7 separate regions of the Homo sapiens genome follow, and regions 1, 3, 4, 5, 6 and 7 are each linked to region 2. Evidence: promoter capture Hi-C in 16 types of primary human blood cells and fetal thymus (Javierre and others, 2016). All regions are on one chromosome and are shown on one strand. The core of a region is centred on a gene start or on the middle of the fragment in contact, and the rest is flanking DNA. Distances in the headings are between cores, read along the strand shown.

Region 1 (3,097 bases), core at 539-3,038, 220 kb after region 2:
CTTTCTGAGCTTCAAAATGAGAAAAATAAAGTCTACCTCCTAGCATTTGCATGGGGAATGAAAGGAATTCTACAAAATTCCTGGCATAAGTGTCTGTCTCCTTGGATGGCTAGTCCCTCTTCTTCCTTGATCGGTTTAGAGTCAGTTGCCTGGTCGATGAAGGGGAAAGCAAGGCAAGAGTAACAATAGGGTATTGTGGGGATTAAAGGAAGATGTATGGCAATGGATCTGTCAACTGCAGCCCTGTACAAACACTGATTATTAATGTACTCTGGGACTCTGGAGTAATAGGAATAACTTCAGGGCTGAGCAGGTCACATGTGAAAAAATTTTTAAACAGCAGCAGCATCATTGGCAGTATTATACTGCTGCTTAAAAGACTTAGAATTTTGTGACTCAGTGCTTAAAATGACATTCAGAAGAAAAATAGCCTCAGGCCAACAGCCGCAATCCTTCACCCTGTGCCCAGGCTCCTGTGTCTGGGATTCAGGGCCATGCTGAAGCCAGCTGGCCTCCAGATGCAGTGACAAATCCAGGGAAAGCATTTGGGGTTGTCAGAGCTCATGGAGTGACTGCTGAGGGGTCGGTTCATGCGTCTGGAAGACAGTTGGGAACTACTGTCTAATGTCTGGCAGCTAGGTTCAGTGCTGAGCTCAGAAGCCGACCAGTGAGCAGGAAGATGCTCAGTTCTGCTTTGAACTGCGGCCAAGAGGCCAAGCGGTAATTTCATCTCTCCTCCAGTTCTTGCCGCAGGAAAACTGACAATAAGGAAAAAACAGATATGGCTGGGTCTCTCTCTCAAAAGGACACTGACACCAAAGTCCTAACTCCTCAAGAGGTCCTTCAAACAAATCTATCAAAATCTGTGAAAAGAAGCCTCACTGAATTCCAAGATCCCAAAGATAATTGTTACTCCTAAAATTTGTTGTAGTAAAAATAACAGCGGGTCTCAGCTCAAGTGTCACATTCTCAGAAAGACCTTCCTGACTACCTCATCCTAAAAGTGGGGCCTCCTCATCCCTTATTATCTTTCTAAAATTATTATTATTTTTTTTTAAAGGCAGGATCTCACTCTATCACCCAGGCTGGAGTGCACTCGTGCGATCATAGCTCACTGCAGCCTCGAACTCCTGGGCTCAAGCAATCCTCCTACTCAGCCTTCTGAGTAGCTAGGACTACAGGCACATGCCAGTACACCCAGCTAGTTTTTCAATGTTTTAAATAGAGACAGGGTCTCACTGTTGCCCAAACTGGTCTCAAACTCCTCGGCTCATGTAATCTTCCTGCCTCAGCCTCCCAAAGAGCTGGGATTACAGGAGTAAGCCACTGCACCTGGCTCTCTCTTTATTTTTGAGAACGGTACTGTCTGACATTGCCTACCTGTTACTTTTTGCCCCACAAGAAAAATATGCTGTATGTGGCAGAAAGTTAGGTTTATTCACTGCTGTATCCCAATGCTGGCACTGAAATATTTATTAGTTTAATGAATGAATGAAGGAACACTGCACATAATACCTAAGTAACCTATTTATGTCCTTTTTAGAAAATTCCATATAGTTCAGAAGAGGAATGTTTATAGTTGAGTATATTTTACAAGTTGAGCATCAGGTTTTAGCTTCCATAATGTAACATTACAGCACTGTTGCTATAAGAAAGTGAAATCTACCTTAAAACTCAGATGTCACTATTCAATGGTATCCTTTCCAGGAACAAAAGCCTTCCTGAGGACTATAACATGGTAATTCTCTCCTCCACGGAACCACTTTGTATAAGGTTGTTTCTGCTGGGAAAATACATTTCTTTTAGGACATGGAAAATCTAATCCAGTTGCTGTAACAAAGAAAAGGATCCTTCCAGAAAAGGGAGGAATTACTACTTCTGGGTGGTGGAAACTTGTCATATCTTGATCATACAAATAAAGGCTCCTCTGCAGGATGTGATCTACCAGGGGTTTGGAAGTAGAAATCAAAGGGCTGTTGCCACCAAGAGGACTGCAGTTTCAGACCTGTGGTGCCAGGGCCTGCCTCTGAACCAGAATCATCCTCCTCCCAGCCTGTGAGAAAGTACAGCAAAGGACTTAAAAGCAGGACACAAATCCAACATATGCAGTTTTCATAACGTACTTTGTTAAAAACATGTATTCTCAAATTGTGTTACACATAATACAGGCACGCAATGCCTCCTTCATAACTAATGTAAAAAACAATTTGGCCAGGTGCAGGGGCTCATACCTATGATCCCAACACGTTTGGAAGCCAAGGTGGGAGGATCACTTGCGGCCAGAGTTTGAGACTAGCCTGGGCAACATAACGAGATCCCATCTCTAAAAAAAAAAAATTTTTTTTTTTTTTTGAGATGGAGTCTTGCTCTGTCACCCAGGCTGGAGTGCAGTGGCACGATCTCAGCTGACTGCAACCTCTGCCCTCCAGGTTCAAGCGATTCTTCTGCCTCCGCCTCCCGAGTAGCTGGGACTACAGGCGCACACCACCACACCCGGCTAATTTTTGTATTTTTAGTAGAGACGGGATTTCACCATATTGGCCAGGCTGGTCTCGAACTGCTGACCTCGTGATCCGCCTGCCTCGGCCTCTCAAAGTGCTGGGATTACAGGCGTGAGCCACCACACCCGGCCAAAAATTTTTTTAAAGATAAAGCAATTTCTCTAAAAAATTAATTTCAGGCCATAAAAACCCACAAGGTCAAAGGTTAAACCCATCTTTTGACTCTCAGGGGAAAAAAGCATATGAATAACCAGGAAAATGAATACAGAGTTGGTACAGCTTTTTCAATAATAAAAATAATAAAACTGTTATTAGACAAAAATGTCTTCTTCAAAAAGACCCTTGGGGGAAACACTGGGCCTCAGCTCCTGATGTGAGTGGGGAGGTGCATCTTTTGGAAGCACTACTGTCAGGCTGTACAAGTCTCAAAATGAGGCCTGGCTGGCAGGTTCCAGCTCTGCTAATCTTACTGAGGAACAACCAACAAGGGACATTCCCAGCTGAACGCTTTAACACTCAAGGGAAAATGGTGTCTGTAACAGCAGCAAACTTTCTCTTCAAAACTTTGCATCTTATTTTAAATGAAGGGTTCTTAA
Region 2 (3,026 bases), core at 483-2,982:
TAGTAGAGATGGGGTTTCATCTTGTTGGCCAGGACCGTCTCTATCTCTTGACCTCATGATCCTCCTGCCTTGGCCTCCCAAAGTGCTGGGATTACAGGCATGAGCCACTGCTCCCGGCCTTACTTCTCACTATCTGTGTGACCTTGAGCAAATCACTTAATCTTTCTGTGCCTCAATTTCCTCATCTGCAAAAAGGAATCAATAATAGTATCTTCCTCATAGGGTTTTTGTGCAGATTAAACAAATAAAATAAGTAAATATTTTAAAGCATTTAGAACAGTGCCTAGCACACAGTAACGCTATATAACTGTTTCATAAAATAAAAATAAATAGGCATAGCCAGGTGCAGCAGTTCAAGACTGTAGTCCCAACTAATCAGGAGGCTGAGGTGGGAAGATCACTGGATCCCAGGAGTTCGAGGTTGTAGTGTGCTATGATCATGCCTGTGAATAGCCACTGCACTCCAGCCTGGGAAATATAGTGTGACCCCATCTCAGTAAATAAATAAATAAATAAATAAATAGAGATGCATATGTAATAAAGCACTTAAAAATAAGAGAACAATAAACACAAAATTCCAGAGGGTGGCTACCTGTGGGTGGGAGGCAAGTAGCATAAAAGTGGACAAGTGGTGGCCAGGTGTGGTGGCTCACGCCTGTAATCCCAGCATTTTGGGAGGCCGAGGTGGGCGGATCATGAGGTCAAGAGATCGAGACTCTCCTGGCCAACATAGTGAAACCCTGTCGCTACCAAAAACACAAAAATTAGCTGGGCATGGTGGCATGCGCACCTGTAGTCCCAGCTACTTGGGAGGCTGAGACAAGAGAATCGCTTGAACCCAGCAGGCGAAGGTTGTGGTGAGCCAAGATTGTGCCACTGCACTCCAGCCTGGGCGACAAGAATGAAAACTCTGTCTCAAAAAAAAAAAAAAAAAAAAAAAGCAGATAAGTGGTGTTTGCAGTTTGGTGATACTCCATCCTTGTGCTGAGTGGCAGCTTCAGGTGTGTTTGGTATATTACTGTGCAGTATGATGTATATGTATGTTACATAAGCTTTTTATGCGTTACCTAGTAAATTTTACAAAAATAATAAAAGGGAAAAAGGGCCTTTCTACGTGCCTAGAAAGAAGAGGCTTCATGGGAATGTGAGCCATGGGTTAGGAAAGACCCCCTCGAACCGAGGCAGGTAGGAAGTGAGTGACTGAGATTCATTATGAACCCACCACGCCTGCCGGGGAGAACAGGGACTGTCCCTTCCCCTCTGCATCAGCTCAGATGGTCCAGATCACAGCCCACGTGGGCCCCTAAATAAGGAGGCAGCCCCACATTTCTACATCGGCCACCGAGATGGCAGAGCAGAGGAAGGAGAGAGGGGAGACAAATCAGGAAAGGAGCGCCAGGGCAAGTGCGTGAGCTCAGAGACCCAGCAGGGCAGGGCAGGAGCTTCACAGAGTGCAGAATGTCGAGCCACAGGAGCGCTGGGGATTCCCCAACCCCTGCACTTACCAGCGAGAAACTGAGACCCAGAGAGGGGAACGGACTAAAACTCAGACCTCGACACTGCCAAAATCCTTCCCATGCTGCCACGCTTCATTGGAGGGAAAGTGAGAAGCTCAACCTTACCCCTGTGGGCTCCAAGAAGGGTAGCTCTGGGATCCCGGGCAGGAAATTGGTGACAAGGTGACAAGGTGCGCGTGTCACAGCTGCCCAGTTCACGGCTTATTCAGTCTTCTCCCTCCCCCCACTCCCCACCAGAAGTGACGTGCTTCCTGTGCCCCGGTTCCCACCCTAAACTAGCCTCATTTAGCTCCACTCCCATTCCGCTTTTTTTTTTTTTAATTGTGGTAAAACGTACACAACAGAATTTACCATTTCAATTTTTTTTTTTTTTTTAGACTGAGTCTCAGTCACCCAGGCTGGAGTGCAGTGGTGTGATCTCGGCTCACTGCAACCTCTGCCTCCCGAGTTCACGTGATTCTTGTGCCTCAGCCCGCAGAGTAACCGGGACCACAGGCACCTGCCACCACGCCTGGCTAATTTTTGTATTTTTAGTAGAGACAGGGTTTCACCATGTTGGCCAGGCTGGTCTCGAACTCCTGACCTCAAGTGAACTGCCTTCCTCGGCCTCCTAAAGTGCTAGGATTACAGGCAAGAGCCACTGCGTCCAGCCAATTTTTTGTTGTGTTGTTTTTAAGACAGAGTCTTGCTTTTGTCACCTAGGCTGGAGTGCAGTGGCACAATCACAGTTCGTGGCAACCTCTGACCCCTGAGCTCAAGTGACCCTCCCTCCTCAACTTCCCAAGTGACTGGGACTACAAGTGTGCAGCCACCAGGCTTGGCTAATTTCTGTAGTTTTTGTAGAGACAGAGTGTTGCTTATGTTGCCCAGCCTGGTCTCAAACTCTTGAGCTCAAGCAATCCTCCCACCTCAGCCTCCCAAATGCTGGGAATGAGCCACCGTGCTAGGCCCATTTTAATTATGTTTAAGTGTACAGTTTGGGGCACTAAGTACATTCACATTGTTCTGCAACCATCACCACCATCCATCTCTGGAGCTCTCTCTTTCTCTTTTCTTTCTTTTTTTTTTTTTGAGATGGAGTTTCGCTCTGTTGCCCAGGCTGGAGTGCAGTGGTGTGATCTTGGCTCACTGTAACCTCTGCCTCCCAGGTTCAAACGATTCTCTTGCCTCAGTGTTTTTGTTGTTGTTGTTGTTGTTTGTTTGTTTGTTTGTTTTGTAGAGATGGAGCCTCACTCTGTCGCCCAGGCTGGAGTGCTGGAGTGCAGTGGTGTGATCTCGGCTCACTGCAACCTCCGCCTCCCGAGTTCAAGCAATTCTCCTGCCTCAGCCTCCTGAGTAGCTGGGACTACAGGTGCACGCCACCACGCCTGGTTAATTTCTTTTGTATTTTAGCAGAGATGGGGTTTCACCATGTTGCCTAGGCTGGTCTCAAACTCTTGAGCTCAGGCAATCCGCCCGCCTTGGCCTCCCAAAGTGTTGGGATTACAGGCATGAGCCACCGTGCCTGGC
Region 3 (3,169 bases), core at 289-2,788, 200 kb after region 2:
AATGAAGGTAACTGTGGGCACAAGTCCAAGTACAAAGTGCATGATTTTGAGGTTGAACAGAGTGAATCGGTCCTTCAGGAACCAAGGCAAGAGTGGAGAGGCCCGTCTGCAGTTGAGGATAAGAAGGCCTGGGAATCTAAGGGCAAAGTTAGGCCCAGCCTAGCGCCAAAGGGTGAAAACAGCAATGCGTTCAGAAGCCTGCGGTCTCAGCAGTCAGGCCAGGCCCCAGGGAACAAAAAGCTGGCACCTGCTCAGGAAGCAGAGTTATTTTTCGTGTGGAGGTCACCAGGACCCTGCTTGCCTAATCCTCCACACACTTGGGCCCCCTGACTGGCCAGGTAAAGCGACCTCTGATCAGACTGGGCGGACAGAGCTGAAGGTGGGCCCCAGGGAGAGCTGGGTGTCAGGTGGCCAGATGGGGGCAGGCTCTGGCTCACTGTTGTTATTGTCCTCCAGGGCTCACTCAGACAGTGGCCTCAGAGGTTCACAGTAAATGCCCCCAAACCCACACTAACCAAAGCCTGGTTCCACTTCTCTAGATTTTTACTAAAATAAGCCACACGAGGCCGGAGCATCACTACTGCTCTTTAAATACAAGAAAATGTCCAGGCTTCTGTTTGCTCATCTGCAAAATGAGGGGATTAGGCTAGATAAACAAAGGCTGCTTCCAGGCCCCAAACTGCTGGGTAATTGAGTGTGCTAGAACCAGAGACCATGGTTTGGGCTCTAGACAACCTATCAAGTGGTCACTGCCTCTGCCTCCTCCTGGGGACCACTTCAAGTTCCCTCTTCTCTCTGTCCTCCCAGTGGCTGGCTGCTAAGGCCAACTGAGCCGACCCTCCCACAGCCACAGCCATGCAGGACAGCCAAGGCCAAGAGGAAGGACCTGACTGACACCCAGGAAGACTACATGGTTTGTCCAAGGGCACAGCACTGACAACATGGGCTTCCTGACACTGAGGCCCGATGCCCGGCAGGGTGCCTTTTCAAACATGCCACACACGCTCTTTATTCCTGCTTTGTCCCAGCTTTTGTACCTGCCCTCTGTGCTCCGTCATGGACAGCTCACTTACAAGCTAAGACCTCAGTTCTCAACCAGCAGCATGTGACTGGCCGCACTGAGAAATGAAAGGTCTCATTATCCATCTGACAATCTGGTACCATATAAAATGGCTAGCCTCCTGCCCTCTACTCCTGAAACTCAATTATACCCAGGCTCAAAAAAAGAGACAAGCTTCTCTCAAGCCCTCAGGAACTGAAAGGCCAAAAAAGAAAGCTTCCTTCTCAACAGTCTCTTTTTCCCATAGTTCCAGCAGACTACAAAGCCCTTGGGTTTTAACACTGACCCCCCAAGCCTTGTGATGGGAAGGAGAGCTGTAGCTCATGTTGTCGCCAGGCTCCCATAGGTATGATTTCGTGCTGGAGAGGTGTTTAAGCAAAAGTCTGACATGATCAAAGTGGTACACAAAATTAATCACGTCCCGTCCCAGAATGGATGAGGGTGGCAGAGGCAACATGGAAAAACAGGTCTGGAGTCTGGTTGTCTGGGAAGGCAGGCTCCATTATCAGGCTCACAATTCTGCTGAACACAACTAACAATGAATACATTGAAAAAAAATTTCTGAATGGCTGGGCACGGTGGCTCACACCTGTAATCCCAGCTACTAGGGAGGCTGAGGCACAAGAATTGCTTGAATCCATGAAACAGAGGTTTCAGTGAGCTGAGACTGTGGCACTGCACCCCAGCGTGGGTGACAAAGTGAGACTCTGACTCCAGAAAAAAAAAAGTCTGAAAGGCTTTGAAGCTTCAAGAACTGAGCAAGGAATAACAGTACAGAAACTAAAGAAAACAGGAACCCCGAGGTATGAGCTCTAGAGAAGCCACCTTGCCCTCAAGCATTGGCCTAGCCTAGTCTGGCAAAGGACACTTTCACTTTTTTTTTTTTTTTTTTTTTTTTTTTTTTAAAGACAGAGTCTTGCTCTGTCACCCAGCCTGGAGTGCAGTGGCACAATCTCGGCTCATTGCAACCTCCGCCTCCCAGGTTCAAGTGATTCTCCTGCCTCGGGCTCCCCAGTAGCTGGGACTACAGACGCCCGCCACCACACCTGGCTAATTTTTGTATTTTTAGTAGAAATGGGGTTTCACCATATTGGCCAGGCTGGTCTTGAACTCCTGACCTTGTGATCCACCAATCTTGGCCTCCCAAAGTGCTGGGATTACAGGTGTGAGCCACCACACCCGGCAGCCTTTCACTTTAACAGCCTCCTGAGCAGAAGTCAACATCCAGGGCTGGCCAGCGTGGAACACCAACTGGAGACTCTTCCTCAAGGAGCCGGGACCCCAAAGGACTACAGCTACTAGGTAACAGGTGAACCAGAAGCAAACCAGGCCTCACTTAGACTGGAGGCCTAGGTTTGCCTCCTCTGAAAGAACCAGGGAATCTCAACCATGAGCTTCTTCCAAGGTGGTCTTGGACCAGAAATACCTCCAGGGACCTGGCAGAAGAAATTCTCTCCCCACGAAAGCAAAGCACTTTCACCCGAAGCCTCAAGTTATTCCGAGAAATACTTTCTCAAATACAATGAATGGTAAGCACATAACCAAAGGTAACCAAGCAGATGAGGAAACAAGACTAAGGACCAGCAGAAATAGAATATAACAGAAAAATAAGGACTTCAGATAATGGAATTATCAGGCATAGATTTGTTTTTACAAGTATGCATCAAGATGAGTTTAAAATACCTACAGGGAGTCCAGGCACAGTGGCTCACGCCTGTAATCCCAGCACTTTGGGAGGCTGAGGTGGGTGGATCCCTTGAGGTCAGGAATTCGAGACCAGCCTGGCCAACATGGCAAAACCTCATCTCTACTAAAAATACAAAAATCAGCTGGACGTGGTGGCGCATGCCTGTAATTCAAGCTACTCAGGAGGCTGAGACACAAGAATCGCTTGAAACTGAGAGAAGGAGGTTTCAGTAAGGCAAGATTGGGCCACTGCACTCCAGCCTGGGCAACAGAGTGAGACTCCATCTCATCAAATAAAATAAAATAAAATAAAATAAAATAAAATAAAATAAAATATCTAAAGGGAGAATTACAGGCAAGCAGACCAGTTTTAAGGCTATTCTGGCAGCCAAAGCATGATGTAAGAAATGCCTAAACTAGAGG
Region 4 (3,341 bases), core at 324-2,823, 130 kb before region 2:
CACACTGGAACCTACCGCTGCACAGCCACTAACCAGCTGGGCTCTGTCAGCAAAGACATTGCTGTCATTGTTCAAGGTAACCTTTGCTGCCCTGCTGCCAGGCCCAGGATGGAAACCCCTCAGGGGTTTGGGATTCTTATCTAAGCATGAAAATAAGAAAGATTCTACTAGGTTGGGAAGAATGAGACTCAGAAGTGGGCCTGGTGGGCTGGGGTGGGTGATCCTTGTACTCTCAGACTTTCCTAACTCTATCTTCTGTGCTTGGGCAGGACTGGATGAAGGAATAAGCTCTACCCTCTTTGTCATTATTACCGTTGCCCTTGGAGTGGGTGTCATCACCATAGCACTGTATTTGAGCTATCGGCCCTGCAAAGTGGACAGGAGGAAATTGCTCTATAGGCAGAAAGAGGAGGACAAAGAGGAGGAAAGCCAGTTTGCTGTTCAGGAAGAGAAAAGTACAACTCATATAATTGACAACTGTTTGATTGAATGAGACTTCTGCTACTGTGGTTTCCCAGGGAGGGAAGAAGGGATAGAGGAGAAAGGAAGAAACACAATGGCAGGCTGCATTCCCCTTTGTGTACGTCTGTCCTGTAAAACGGTGTTTCAGGCCCCCATGCCCCATGTCCTGTGTGTCCAATATGTCCACAAGCTCACCATTCTCTCTCTCTCTCTCTTTTCTTTTCTTTTTCTTTTTCTTTTTTTTTTTTTTTGAGATGGAGTCTTGCTGTTGTCGCCTAGGCTGGAGTGCAATGATGCGATCCTGGCTCACTGCAACTGCAGCCTCCCGGGTTCAGGTGATTCTCTTGCCTCAGCCTCCCTGGCAGCTGGGATTACAGGTGCACACCACCATGCCTGTCTAATTTTTGTACTTTTCGTAGAGATGGGGTTTCACCATGTTGGCTGGGCTGGTCTCAAACTCCTGACCTCAAGTGATCCGGCCACCTTGGCCTCCCAAAGTGCTGGGATTACAGGTGTGAGCCACCGCGCCCAGCCACCTTTCTCTTTAGAGCTCACTCTATTCATTAGGAATCTCAGTCTCAATGTTTGATTTGTAAGAAGGCCTCTTGCTCCTTGCCAGGTGCATCATCAGTCCACTCTTAGATCCAAAAAAAAAAAAAGAAAAGATCTTGCCGTTTCTTCATGGTTCTCACTGCCCTTTTCTCTTAAACATCATACTAAAGTCAGGCATATCTTAGAAATACAACTCATATTTCATGGTTTTCTGATTACTAACTGGGAACTAAATCTGTAGTCCAAGGACAGGACTTTGAAGGGAGTAAGTATCAAATATGGGGCCAGGAATCAGAGCTCTGTTCCTATCTCCACTTTCCCTTGCTCCCCTGACCTGGGCTTCTGGAGGGCCAGCTCCCAGAGCTGAGCTTGTTGACATCATTAAGGATCAGTGGCAAGCTTCAACTCAGTAACCATCTGTTGCGGGTCTTGGGGGAGTATACAGATGGTAAGAAATTCCACTTTGGGCCAGACGGGCATCCTATCTAGCTCAGTATTCTGTCTCTGAAGGAGAAGGTAGAGTTCTTCCATGAAATTGGCCTCATAGGTTAAGAGCTCCAAACATCTCTGAATTCCTTTTCATAGAGTGATCAACTGTGAGTTCGCATTTGCCAGTTTTCTTTTTTTTACCCATATGGGCATCTAGGTTAAAGTTCCAATCTTTACTCTCCCTTTTCATCAATAAGTGCATATTTTCTTCTGTCTGTAAACAATTTCCTTGAAGCTTCAAGAGGAATCTTCTTGTGAAAATGTTCATATGATTTTATGTTTCAGCTTCTTTCCCTGTCCTTGAGAAAGAGTATATTCACCCTCGGAGAAGGCGTGAGGAATCACAGAACCAGATGTTTTCTCCCAAATCAGTCAAGAAATGTTCACTGGAATGTTGCTATGGTAAAAATAAAAGTGGTTTTATGATGTCCAAATGCAGTTCCCTTCCCTTCTGTGTCATTGCTAAAAGCTCTTATGTCAAATGGCTGCATTTTATAACTTTTTTTTTTAGATGGAGTCTCGCTCTTTGCCTAGGCTGGAGTGCAGTGGTGTGATTTCGGTCCACTTCAAACTCCACCCCCGGGTTGAAGCAATTCTCTGCCTCAGCCTCTATAGATTAAGAGTAGCTGGGATTACAGGCGCCCACCACCATGACCAGCTAATTTTTTGTATTTTTAGTAGAGACAGGGTTTCACCACCTTGGCCAGGCTGATCTTGAAGTCCCGACCTCGTGATCTACCCACCTCGGCCTTCTAAAGTGCTGGGATTACAGGCCTGAGCCATCACTCCCGGCTGCATTTTATAACTTTAAGTACAATTTCTAAGGAAAAAATACCGTGTTGATAGCATAAACAACCAGCCCAGGGCCGGGGGTGCATTAACTGAGGGCAGCAGCCTATTTGACCTGCTTTCAAAACTGAAATTCAGGCTGGTGTGGTGGCTCACGCCTGTAATCCCAGCACTTTGGGAGGCTGAGGCAGGTGAATCACTTGAGCCCTGGAGTTTGCGAATAGCCTGGGCAACATGGCAAAACCCCATTTCTACAAAAAACACAAAACTTAGCCAGGTATAGTGGCACATGCATGTAGTCCCAGCTACTTGAGAGTCTGAGGTGGGAGGATCACTTGAGCACGGGAGGTGGAGGGTTGCAGCGAGTTGAGATCATGCACTGCACTCCAGCCTGGGCAACGGAGCCAGGCCCTGTCTCAAAAGCAAAATAAAGGAACAAAAATGAAAGCTAAAGGTCAGACTTCCAGATAGAGAGAGGTCCATAGCCTTCCAAATTGCAGATACCAGCTAGAAAAAACCATGGCATCAGACAGCAGAGGGAAAACGTTTTCCCATTCTTCCCAGACCTCCCCTGAGTCTGGTGCTATAGATTAAGTGTAAAAGTAACCCTTTGGTTTCACCACATACAAGGCAGTGGGGATACAGTGGTGAACAAAACATTGTTCCTGGCTTCCAAAAATATATTAGGAAAGCTAGACAAACAAGTAGGAGATTACATTTGTGCATGAACTCCTATGACTGGGAAAACAGATTGTTAAGAGAAAGCATAACTCGGATCAAGGAAGGCTTCCCGGAGGGACACGAAATATCTTGACTTTGTAAAATAGCATCATCCCCGAACATGAACTTTTCAACCTCAATGTTTCCACTAGGTGGAGCTACTGCTCCTTCATCATGTGAGTCTAATATAAATCATCCACCTTCCCTGAATTGAGCATTTGGGGAAGTAAGTTAAGAAGCAGGTTTAAGAGACAGGAGTATACAGCCACACCATGCAGGGATCCACAGCCATTTTGGTGTCAGGATCAGTCGCATCAGGGCTGTAGTTA
Region 5 (3,143 bases), core at 419-2,918, 180 kb after region 2:
CTATTTAGGTTATCTATTTCTTCTTGAGTAAGCTTTGGTTTGTATCTTTCAAAGAGTTTATCTATTTTATCTATGTTGTCCAATTTCTGGGCATAATGTTGTTTACAATATTTCCCTATAATCCTGTGAATATCTGTAGTGTCTATGGTGATGCCCCCTCTTTCAGTCCTGACACTGGTAATTTGTGCTTCTCTCAAATCTTTCTTTTCGTATGTATGTATGCACATATATATGTATATATGTATGTATCTATCATCTATGTATTTGATACAGGGTCTTTCTCTGTCATCCTGGCTGTACTGCAGTGGCACAATCATAACTTACTGTAACCTGGAACTCCTGGGCTCAATTAATCCTCCCACCTCAGCCTCCCAAGTAGCAAGGGCTACAGATACGTGTCACTACACCAAGCTAATTTTTTTAAAAAGATCTTTGTAGAAATGGAGTCTTGCTATGTTGCCCAAGCTGGTCTTGAACTCTTGGTCTCAAGCAGTTCTCCCACCTTGGCCTCCCAAAGTGCTGGGATTACATGCATGAACTACCACACCCATCCTCTAACAAGCTTTTAATACTATTAATTTCCCTCTAGGCACTGTATTACCTGCAATTTCTGATAGGTTGTATTTTCAGTTTCCTTCAGTTAAAAATATTTTCTATTTTCCCTTATGACTTTATCTTTAGGCCCACAGGCTGTTTAGAAGTATTTTGCTTAATTTCCAAATATTTGAGAAATTTTCAGATATCTCTCTTACTGGTTTTTAGTGTAATTTCATAATAGGAAACAGGCTTTGTATAATTTCAATTCTTTTAAGCTTGTTATATGGTCTATCTTGGTTCCAAGTGCAGTTAAAAAAAATGCATTCTGCTGTTGAGTAGGGTTTTCTATAAATATATTTATTTGTCTTTTTAAGCACAACCATTTTCACCAAAGATCTCCTGACACAGAACACACAGCTTTCTTCTTATTCAATTTGGTTGCAGAAAATACTGTCTTACATATATAACAGGTTTACCAGGGCTAAAGTTCTAAAGGCAACTAGATTAATAAAGAACTTGAAGCAGATATAATCGTTTTTCTAAGATACTTCAGAGGTTGTTTATGCTTGCAGAGCTACTAAAACCAAGAAGAATCCATGAAGGGCGGGGGGAAGTTGGAGCTGATGAGAACTCTATTAGATCAAAACAGCCACTTGTTATCAGTGTCATTTATGAGCCATTTGGCCATACAGTCCCTGCATGCAATTGCTCTTCTTGAATCATTTCACTCTGAGCACACATCTGCTGGCTAGAGTAGAGGCTACTTGAGAATATGGATTATGTGTGATACTGCCTTCGTCCATCCTAATACCTAAGCTGAGATGCTCAGCATTTATTTAATGGCTGTTTTTGAATTATGATAATCACAATTTGATATAAGATAGACATTACTGCGACAAATCACCATATAAAATATTTTTCGTTATTTCCAGGTACATAGAATTACAGATACATGTACAAAAGCCAGTAGAATTAACATGATACTGGCACCAAATGAGAAAAAAAGGATTAACATGATACTGGAATTTCAGACAAAAATCCCTGCATTATGTTTATCAACCACTCACCACCAGACTAGAAGGGCTAAAGGAGAAAAAAAAGACAAGTATTATATTACATGAAACTGTTCTCCAAGAAAAGGACAGTCTCTGAGAAATAGAGTAAAGTAAGCTGTGGGGATTTTTCCCATTTGAAACTGCTGGGATTGTACAGGTTAATTATCTGATTTATGAATAAGAGAAACTTAGGGATAAAAGTTGTTTCTCTCCAATTGCTTTCATTTCGTCTTTCCTAAATCAGAAAATGCAGACTTGTCCAGGGAGGTGCTGTACAATGGAAATATTAATATAATGTGAGCCATAAATGTGATCATGAAAATATGTAATTTTATTTTTACTTTATTTTTTTGAGATGGAGTCTCGCTCTGTTGCCCAGGCTGGAGTGCAGTGGCGTTACCTTGGCTCACTGCAACCTGCACCTCCTGGGTTCAAGCAATTCTCCTGCCTCAGTCTCCTGAATAGCTGGGATTACAGGTGTGTGCCACCACGCCCGGCTAATTTTCGTATTTTTAGTAGAGATGGAGTTTCACCATGTTGGCCAGGCTGGTCTCAAACTCCTGACCTCAAGTGATCCACCCACCTTGGCCTCCCAAAGTGCTGGGATTACAGGCGTGAGCCACTGCGCCTTGCTGAAAATGTGTAATTTTAAATGGTCTAAGAGCCACATTAAGAAAGAAAAAGCAGGTAAAATTAATTTAAACAATGTATTTTATTTAAATTCATATCAAAATTATGATTTCAACATGTAATCAATATTAAAAATTATTACTGGTATTTTACATTCTGTTTCATACCAAGTCTTCAGAATCCAGTGCGTACTTTACGCTTAGAACACATCTTGATTCCAACTAGCTACACTTCAAGGGCTCAACAGCCACATAGGGCTCAGGACTAGTATATAAGAGACAGTTCAGGGCCAGTTATTGGGTTCAAGCTTTTTAGCCCTAGACCCTTGGCTCAACTATGAATAGAATGGGCAAAGCCTTCCTTTCTCTTCTTGTGCATGCTTTCAACACACTCAGTCTTAGTGATAAGAGACAGTCATTCAGTACATGGCAGTTTTCTGCCATTTTATTAGATGCTTTGCATAATTAAATGAGAGAAGATAATCTAAGTAATCACCTAATGAAATCTATTGTAGAAATTCAAAATCCCTTTTAAAAGTTAACCTGCAATATTAAAAACTCAGAAATATTAATAAGAGTATTCTATGTAGGAGGCTTTTGAAAAACTCATAGTTCTATAGGAAAATTAAGATAATTAATAGACAAACATATCATTTTTTTAGCTTATTCTTTTGATTTTTAGACTTAGAAAACAAAACAAGACATACAGGCATGTGTGTTGAGATACATACACCAGCTCATCTGTTCACAGGTCAGTTTCAGGTGCTGAGCTGTTACTCTGCCCCAGTCTAACCAACTGCTACTCAATTATTATTCCTAGGAAAATTCCTGTCCCTGGATAACAAGAGCAACCATTTCCACAGTGCTTCAGGGATTCGGTTTTTAGCCACAAAGCCAGGCATTCAACCCAGCAACCTGAGCT
Region 6 (2,945 bases), core at 26-2,525, 250 kb after region 2:
AGGCAGTTACCAATGGAGACACAGCCTGAAGCTCTCCTTGGCCACATCTTCAGCCCCCTGCCTCAGGGAGAGAGAGAGAGAAAGGGTAGGGGCCCTGGAGCTGCCCCTTGCAAAGGTCCTTGGAAGCTGGCAATGTGCCTCTCAGAGTGCCCACCAACCTCCTTTCCCTACCAAGCTCCACGTAAGCATTAAATTAATTAATACACTACCAACCAGATCTCAAACTAGAAGCCAGTAAGATCCAGCATGAACACTTAGAAGGATCCCTTCTTTTTGAAATCTGAGGAATTTGGATGCATTGAAAAATAAATGAACATATCATAACACAATAATGTTTCCTACCTTTTTTTTTTTTTTTTTTTTTGAGATGGAGTCAGCCTCTGTCATGTTGCCCAGGCGGGAGTGCAGTGGCGTGACCTTGGCTCACTGCAACCCCCGCTCAGGAGGAGAGCCCAAGAGTTTGAGACCATGTTGTCCAGGCTGGTCTCAAACTCCTGGTTTCAAGCAATTCTCCTGCCTCAGCCTCCCTGAGTAGCTGGGACTACAGGCACACGCCACCACACCTGGCTAATTTTTTTTATTTTTATTTTTAGTAGATACAAGGTTTCACCATGTTGGCCAGGCTGGTCTTGAACTCTTGAGCTCAGGTGATCTGCCCACCTCAGCCTCGGCCTCCCAAAGTCCTGGGATTACAGGTGTGAGCCACTGCGCCTGGCCTGTTTCCTACCTATTAAGAGGTTACTATGTGCCAGGTACTATGCCAAGTCCCTGGAACATAGCAGTTCACTGAAACCTTACAGTAACTCTTTAGGGTAGATATGACCATTATTTTCTCCTTTTTATGGATGCAGAAACTGAAGTTCACAGATTAGTGATGTGTCCAGGATAGCAGGGCTAGTTGAAGGAAGAGCCAGCATTCATGACCGTAACCACCAGGCTTTTTTGAGATGGGGTCTTGCCATGTTGCCAGGGCTGGTCTCAAACTCCTGGGTGCAAGCGATCCTCTTGCCTCAACCTCTCCCAAACTGCTGAGATTACAGGCGTGAGCCACTGTGCCTGGCTCAAATCATGCTTAAAAGAGTGATTTTAGAGCTTGGCATCTGTGACTCATTGTAGTACCTCTGAAAAAGGTTAGGGATTGTGAGGCTAAATTCAGATATCAAGCAAGATTCCTTACTTTGTCCCCCAGATAGCTACTCTATATGTATAGCATGTACCAAGTGATCTAAATTTTTTCACCTAGAGTAGGATCTTAAGTCACAGAAATGCAAGCCCAAGCTAATACTCTCCCCTCTTTCTCTACCCCCAACCCCTCAACCCTCATGCCAGGCTCTCTTGAAACCCAGGTTTCAACTATCAGGTTAAGCCCACATAGGTTCTGATATACTTGAAAGATTCCCAATTATTGCATTTCAAGATAATCCCTATTTTCTCACCAATTTCTAAACAAACCAAAAAATGCTCTAAGATTTTATTTTTTGTTTTGAAACAGGGTCTTTCTCCGTCACCCAGGCTAGAGTGCACTGGCACACTCATGGCTCACTGCAGCCTTGACCTCCTGGGTTCCAGTGATCCTCCCACCTCAGCCTCCTGAGTAGCTGGGACTACAGGCATGCGCCACCATGCCTGGCTAATTTCTTTCTACTTTTTGTAGAGATGAGGTCTTGCTGTGTTGTCCCAGGCTGGTCATGAACCCTTGGGCTCAAATGATCCTCCTGCCTCGGTATCCCAAAGTGCTGGGATTAGGCATGAGCCAGTATGCCCAGCCTAAGATTTTTAATTCTGTTTTTGACATTGCATTCTTGGAGACAGAAATGGTTAAGAAGTACAGAAAACCAAAAAGTTGATCCACTTGTATATCTAACAAAGATTAGGGATCATCATGCCACAAGCCACACCATTAATGAGCAATCACTGTGCACTCAGTACCAGGTGGCGGGCTGAGTACTGGGGATAGAGATGAAGGCACTTGTAGATGCTAGATCTAGTAGAGAAACTGACACGTTGATAGACCATTATAGGCTTCCTTAGAGGGAAGCCCAGGAGCCGTGGGGACACAGAATAGGCACTTAGAACCCTTGGGGAACCCAATAATGTTTTTAGGGGTGGCCAGATGAAGTTCATTATGAAGAGAAGCCAGAAAGTTTACAAAAACCCAAGTAAGAGTCACCAAACCCAAGGGAGAAGAGATTGAAAGAGAGAGCAGTCAACAGCAACAGATGCCACAGAATGGTCAAATTAGAAGAGGCCTGAAAGTATGCTCTGGGATTTCGAAATTAGAAGATTAGGGTCATTGACACATGCAGCATAGATGTGGCTGGAAATGTAGAGGCTCCCTAGAGCTGGGCTGAGGAGAAGAGCTAAGAAAAAAGAAGAATCGGCCAGGTGCAGTGGCTCACGCCTGTAACCCCAACACTTTGGGAGGCCGAGGTGGGTGGATCACTTGAGGTCAGGAGTTAGAGACCAGCCTGGCCGACATGGTAAAACCCTGTCTCTACTAAAAATACAAAAATTAGCCAGACGTGGTGGTGCATGCCTGTAATCCCAGCTACTCGGGAGGCTGAAGCAGGAGAATCGCTTGAACCCGGGAGATGGAGATTGCAGTGAGCTGAGATCATACCACTGCACTCCAGCCTGGGCAACAGAGTGAGACTCCATCTCAAAAAAAAAAAGAAGAAGAAGAAGAAGAAGAATGAAGAGACTGTGCAGTGGAGGACTGATGGGATAGGGTCCAAGGAGTCCCAAGGGGACAAGAGAGTAGCCCTGGGCCAGGGTAGGAAGCAAAGTCATCTCTCGAGAGTGGGTGGGGAGGGGATGATGAAGGGCTTTGAGGGGAACCATGAGGGTTTGGAAAGCCACCAAGAGGAATGAAAGTGGGAACTGCCCGATGGAGAGGGAGGATTCTGGGAGACCCATGCGTTTGTGGTGGCACCAGGTCTGTGGAG
Region 7 (3,351 bases), core at 341-2,840, 160 kb before region 2:
TGTTTGAGACGGAGTTTCACTCTTGTTGCCCAGGATGGAGTGCAATGGCACAATCTCAACTCACTGCAACCTCTGCCTCCTGGGTTCAAGTGATTCTCTGCCTCAGCCTCCTGAGTAGCTGGGATTACAGGCACGCATCACCATGCCTGGCTAATTTTGTATTTTTAGTAGAGACGGGGTTTCTCCATATTGGTCAGGCTGGTCTCTAACTTCCAACCTCGGGTGATCCGCCCACCTTGGCCTCCCAAAGTGGGGAGGATTACAGGCGTGAACCACCCCGCCCGGCCAATTACAGGTCTTTTGTCCTGTCTGGTTGTCTGAACCTTTTTTTTCAGGGCAGGTTTCCTGTTCTCTAACCTGGAACTAGATAGAATAGGTTCTGTATTTATTTGGGTCTCGTGGTCCTCACCAGAGTCATTGGCATATGTGGTTCATTTTTTTTTTTTTTTTTTTTTGAGATGGAGTCCTGCTCTGTTGCCAGGCTGGAGTGCAGTGGCACAATCCCGGCTCACTGCAACCTCTGCCTCCTGGGTTCAAGCGATTCTCCTGCCTCAGCCTCCCGAGTAGCTGGGATTACAGGCGTGCGCCACTACACCCAGCTTATTTTAGTACTTTTAATAGAGACGGGGTTTCATCATGTTGGCCAGGATGGTCTTGATCTCTTGACCTTGTGATCCGCCCGCCTCGGCCTCCCAAAGTGCTGGGATTACAGGCGTGAGCCACCGCGCCTGGCCGATGTGGTTCATATTTCAGGGGTCCCGGAAGAGTTGTTTGAGGTTTCTATTTGGCCAAGTCAGGCCCTGGTGGAGTTTGGACAGTCCCTAGTGGTCAACTGCAGCACTACTTGCCCAGACCCAGGACCCAGTGGAATTGAGACCTTCTTAAAGAAAACTCAGGTGGGCAAAGGGCCTCAGTGGAAAGAGTTTCTTCTGGAGGATGTCACAGAGAATTCCATCCTGCAGTGCTTCTTCTCTTGTGCAGGGATTCAAAAGGACACAAGCCTTGGCATCACTGTGTATTGTGAGTAGGGCTGAGGGCTGGGGGCAGGGGGATGGAAAGGAGGAATGGGGAAACATGAACATGTCTTATTTAGGGAAGGATGGGACAAATGTTTCTAATTAGGGGAGATAATTAAGGCCCTTAATAAAGATTTCTGGCATACTGTAGGGATTCTAGATCCAATCACCTTTTTCATTTATTTTTTTTTTTTTGAGATGGAATCTTGCTCTATTGCTCAGGCTAGAGTGCAGTGGTGTGATCTCAGCTAACTGCAGCCTCCACCTGGGTTCAAGCAATTCTCCTGCCTCAGCCTCCCCAGTAGCTGGGACTACAGGCAGCCACCACCATGCCTGGCTAATTTTTGTATTTTTTTTAGTAGAGACAGGGGTTTCACCATGTTGGCCAGGCTGGTCTTGAACTCCTGACCTGAAGTGATCTATCTGCCTCAGCCTCCCAAAGTGCTGGGATTACAGGTGTGAGCCACCTCAAGTCCAGCAAGTAGAAGTGAGCCGGGCCCACTTCTACTTCCCTTTGATGTAGGCTTTCTTCTGAGTTTTAAATTAGGAGCAGACCATAGAGAGCATCCAGATTATCTGTGCTTGAAAATATCTTCAATACAGGAAACATATGCTAATAATGTTTATGGTTAAATTACCAAAAAGTATAAGATTAGCCTGGCCACAGTGGTTCATGCTTTAATCCCAGCACTTTGGGAGGCCAAGGCAGGAGGATCACTTGAGGCCAGGAGTTTCAGACCAGCTTGAGAAACACAGTGAGACCTCTGTTTCTACAAAAGAAGTTTTTAAAATTAGCCAGGCATAGTGGCGTGCACCTGTGGTCCCAGCTACTTGGGAGGCTAAGGTGGGAGGATCCCCGGAGCCTAGAAGTTCAAGCCTGCAGTGATCTATGATCACACCACTGCACTCCAGCCTGGGCAACAGAGTGGGATCCTGTCTCTTAAAAAAAAAAAGTATGAAATTAATGCTGAATTGTTTGCTACAAGCTCTTGGAATAAACAGAGATTGGAGAGAGAAGGGTTTTTGTGAGCTGGGGCAGCCTGAGAAGGCTCCATGGTAGAGGAGGCTCCTGCACTGCCCTCCCCCAGGATAGTTAGGGTTTGAATTGAAGGGGACAGGTGAGGAAGGCCTTTCAGGTGGGCAAATAACATGGACAAAGATATGGCACGAAAGCAAATGTGGTCTCTATGGGGTCAGAACTTGGTTAGCTATAGTTTGGTTTGTTTGTTTGTTTGTTTTGAGATGGAGTCTTGCTCTGTTGCCCAGGCTGGAGTGCAGTAGCACAATCTTGGCTCACTGCAACCTCTGCCTCCCGGGTTCAAGCAATTCTCTGCCTCAGCCTCCCGAGCAGCTGGGATTACAGGCACCTGCCACCGCACCTGGCTAATTTTTGTATTTTTAGTAGAGACTGGGTTTCACCATCTTGGCCTGGCTGGTCTGGAACTCCTGACCTCAAGTGATCCGCTTGCCTTGGCCTCCCAAAGTACTGGGATTACAGGCGTGAGCCACTGCACCTGGCCTGCTACAGTATAGATTTTATGTGATGCTAAGGAGCCCCCGGAAGCTGCTCTTGCCTCTGAAGCCCCTCTGGTAAGAGATCAATGCTTTCCAGAATGGCAGCAACAGTCAAAGCAAGGGACTCTCCCTCAGCAGTCACTCTTCTTTGCTATGGCCATAGCCACTTTTGATGCGAAGAAGAAGAGCCAGAAGACTAACTCACCCCATCTAGGGCAGGGATGGCAGAAAGCTGACATTGCTGATCAGATGGTTTAAGGGTGGCAGTCACCTTCTGTGATTTGTATCACCTCATCTTTCTGTCCTATGCTGTTTCTTTCTGGAGAGGTGGGTGGCATGCTCATCAAGTCCTGCCTTTTTGTCTTAAAGAGCCACCAGAGCAAGTGATCCTGGAGCTGCAGCCTGCCTGGGTGGCTGTGGACGAAGCCTTCACAGTGAAGTGTCATGTACCCAGTGTAGCACCCTTGGAGAGTCTCACCCTTGCCCTTCTCCAGGGTAACCAAGAACTGCATAGAAAGAACTTTACGAGCTTGGCTGTGGCCTCCCAAAGAGCTGAAGTCATCATCAGTGTCAGAGCCCAAAAGGAGAATGACAGATGCAATTCTTCCTGCCATGCAGAACTGGACTTGAGTTTGCAAGGTGGGAGGCTCTTTCAAGGCAGCTCACCCATCAGAATAGTCCGGATCTTTGGTGAGTCAGAACTCAAGTGCAGGAGGAATCCTGGGGCTCATCTTGCCTTGGCCTTTGGGACTAAGTTCTCACGGGGTTTAGGGTGAGGATGTGAGAGTAACTGAGCTCCACCTTTGCTTGAGCTTTAAAC

The links. The method cuts DNA at HindIII sites, captures the fragments that hold promoters and counts their contacts. A CHiCAGO score of 5 or more calls a contact.
Region 1: a contact is called between a fragment that was not itself captured here and the fragment with the promoter of ICAM2 in region 2, in 2 of 17 cell types (endothelial precursors and monocytes). The highest score is 6.0, in endothelial precursors.
Region 3: a contact is called between a fragment that was not itself captured here and the fragment with the promoter of ICAM2 in region 2, in 1 of 17 cell types (naive B cells). The highest score is 6.1, in naive B cells.
Region 4: a fragment that was not itself captured here is called in contact with the fragment with the promoter of ICAM2 in region 2 in 1 of 17 cell types (M0 macrophages); the score reaches 5.3 in M0 macrophages.
Region 5: a contact is called between a fragment that was not itself captured here and the fragment with the promoter of ICAM2 in region 2, in 1 of 17 cell types (endothelial precursors). The highest score is 5.7, in endothelial precursors.
Region 6: a contact is called between a fragment that was not itself captured here and the fragment with the promoter of ICAM2 in region 2, in 16 of 17 cell types (naive CD4 T cells, megakaryocytes, fetal thymus and 13 more). The highest score is 11.0, in naive CD4 T cells.
Region 7: a contact is called between a fragment that was not itself captured here and the fragment with the promoter of ICAM2 in region 2, in 1 of 17 cell types (M1 macrophages). The highest score is 6.7, in M1 macrophages.

Annotation. Positions count from the first base shown.
Region 1 is chr17:64,240,595-64,243,691 of GRCh38, forward strand. The region is part of intron 1 of TEX2 (testis expressed 2); the gene reads right to left. Among named protein-coding and RNA genes, the nearest start is that of TEX2, 21 kb to the right of the region's middle. The HindIII fragment of the contact is 4,422 bases long and covers 1-3,097 here.
Region 2 is chr17:64,018,901-64,021,926 of GRCh38, forward strand. It overlaps ICAM2 (intercellular adhesion molecule 2), which reads right to left and starts at 1,733. Exons shown (of 5, transcript NM_001099789.2): 1 at 1,623-1,733. RefSeq lists enhancers at 1,353-1,472, 1,567-2,067, 1,813-1,902, 2,123-2,172. The HindIII fragment of the contact is 3,360 bases long and covers 1,051-3,026 here.
Region 3 is chr17:64,216,472-64,219,640 of GRCh38, forward strand. All of the region lies in intron 1 of TEX2 (testis expressed 2), which reads right to left. Among named protein-coding and RNA genes, the nearest start is that of TEX2, 45 kb to the right of the region's middle. RefSeq lists enhancers at 1-570, 169-368, 571-1,402. The HindIII fragment of the contact is 529 bases long and covers 1,275-1,803 here.
Region 4 is chr17:63,885,977-63,889,317 of GRCh38, forward strand. No RefSeq gene overlaps it. Among named protein-coding and RNA genes, the nearest start is that of GH2, 5.7 kb to the left of the region's middle. The HindIII fragment of the contact is 325 bases long and covers 1,412-1,736 here.
Region 5 is chr17:64,197,311-64,200,453 of GRCh38, forward strand. All of the region lies in intron 2 of TEX2 (testis expressed 2), which reads right to left. Among named protein-coding and RNA genes, the nearest start is that of SNORA50C, 53 kb to the left of the region's middle. The HindIII fragment of the contact is 1,717 bases long and covers 811-2,527 here.
Region 6 is chr17:64,265,389-64,268,333 of GRCh38, forward strand. No RefSeq gene overlaps it. Among named protein-coding and RNA genes, the nearest start is that of TEX2, 3.6 kb to the left of the region's middle. The HindIII fragment of the contact is 6,256 bases long and covers 1-2,945 here.
Region 7 is chr17:63,856,404-63,859,754 of GRCh38, forward strand. It overlaps the pseudogene TCAM1P. Among named protein-coding and RNA genes, the nearest start is that of SMARCD2, 15 kb to the left of the region's middle. The HindIII fragment of the contact is 6,211 bases long and covers 1-3,351 here.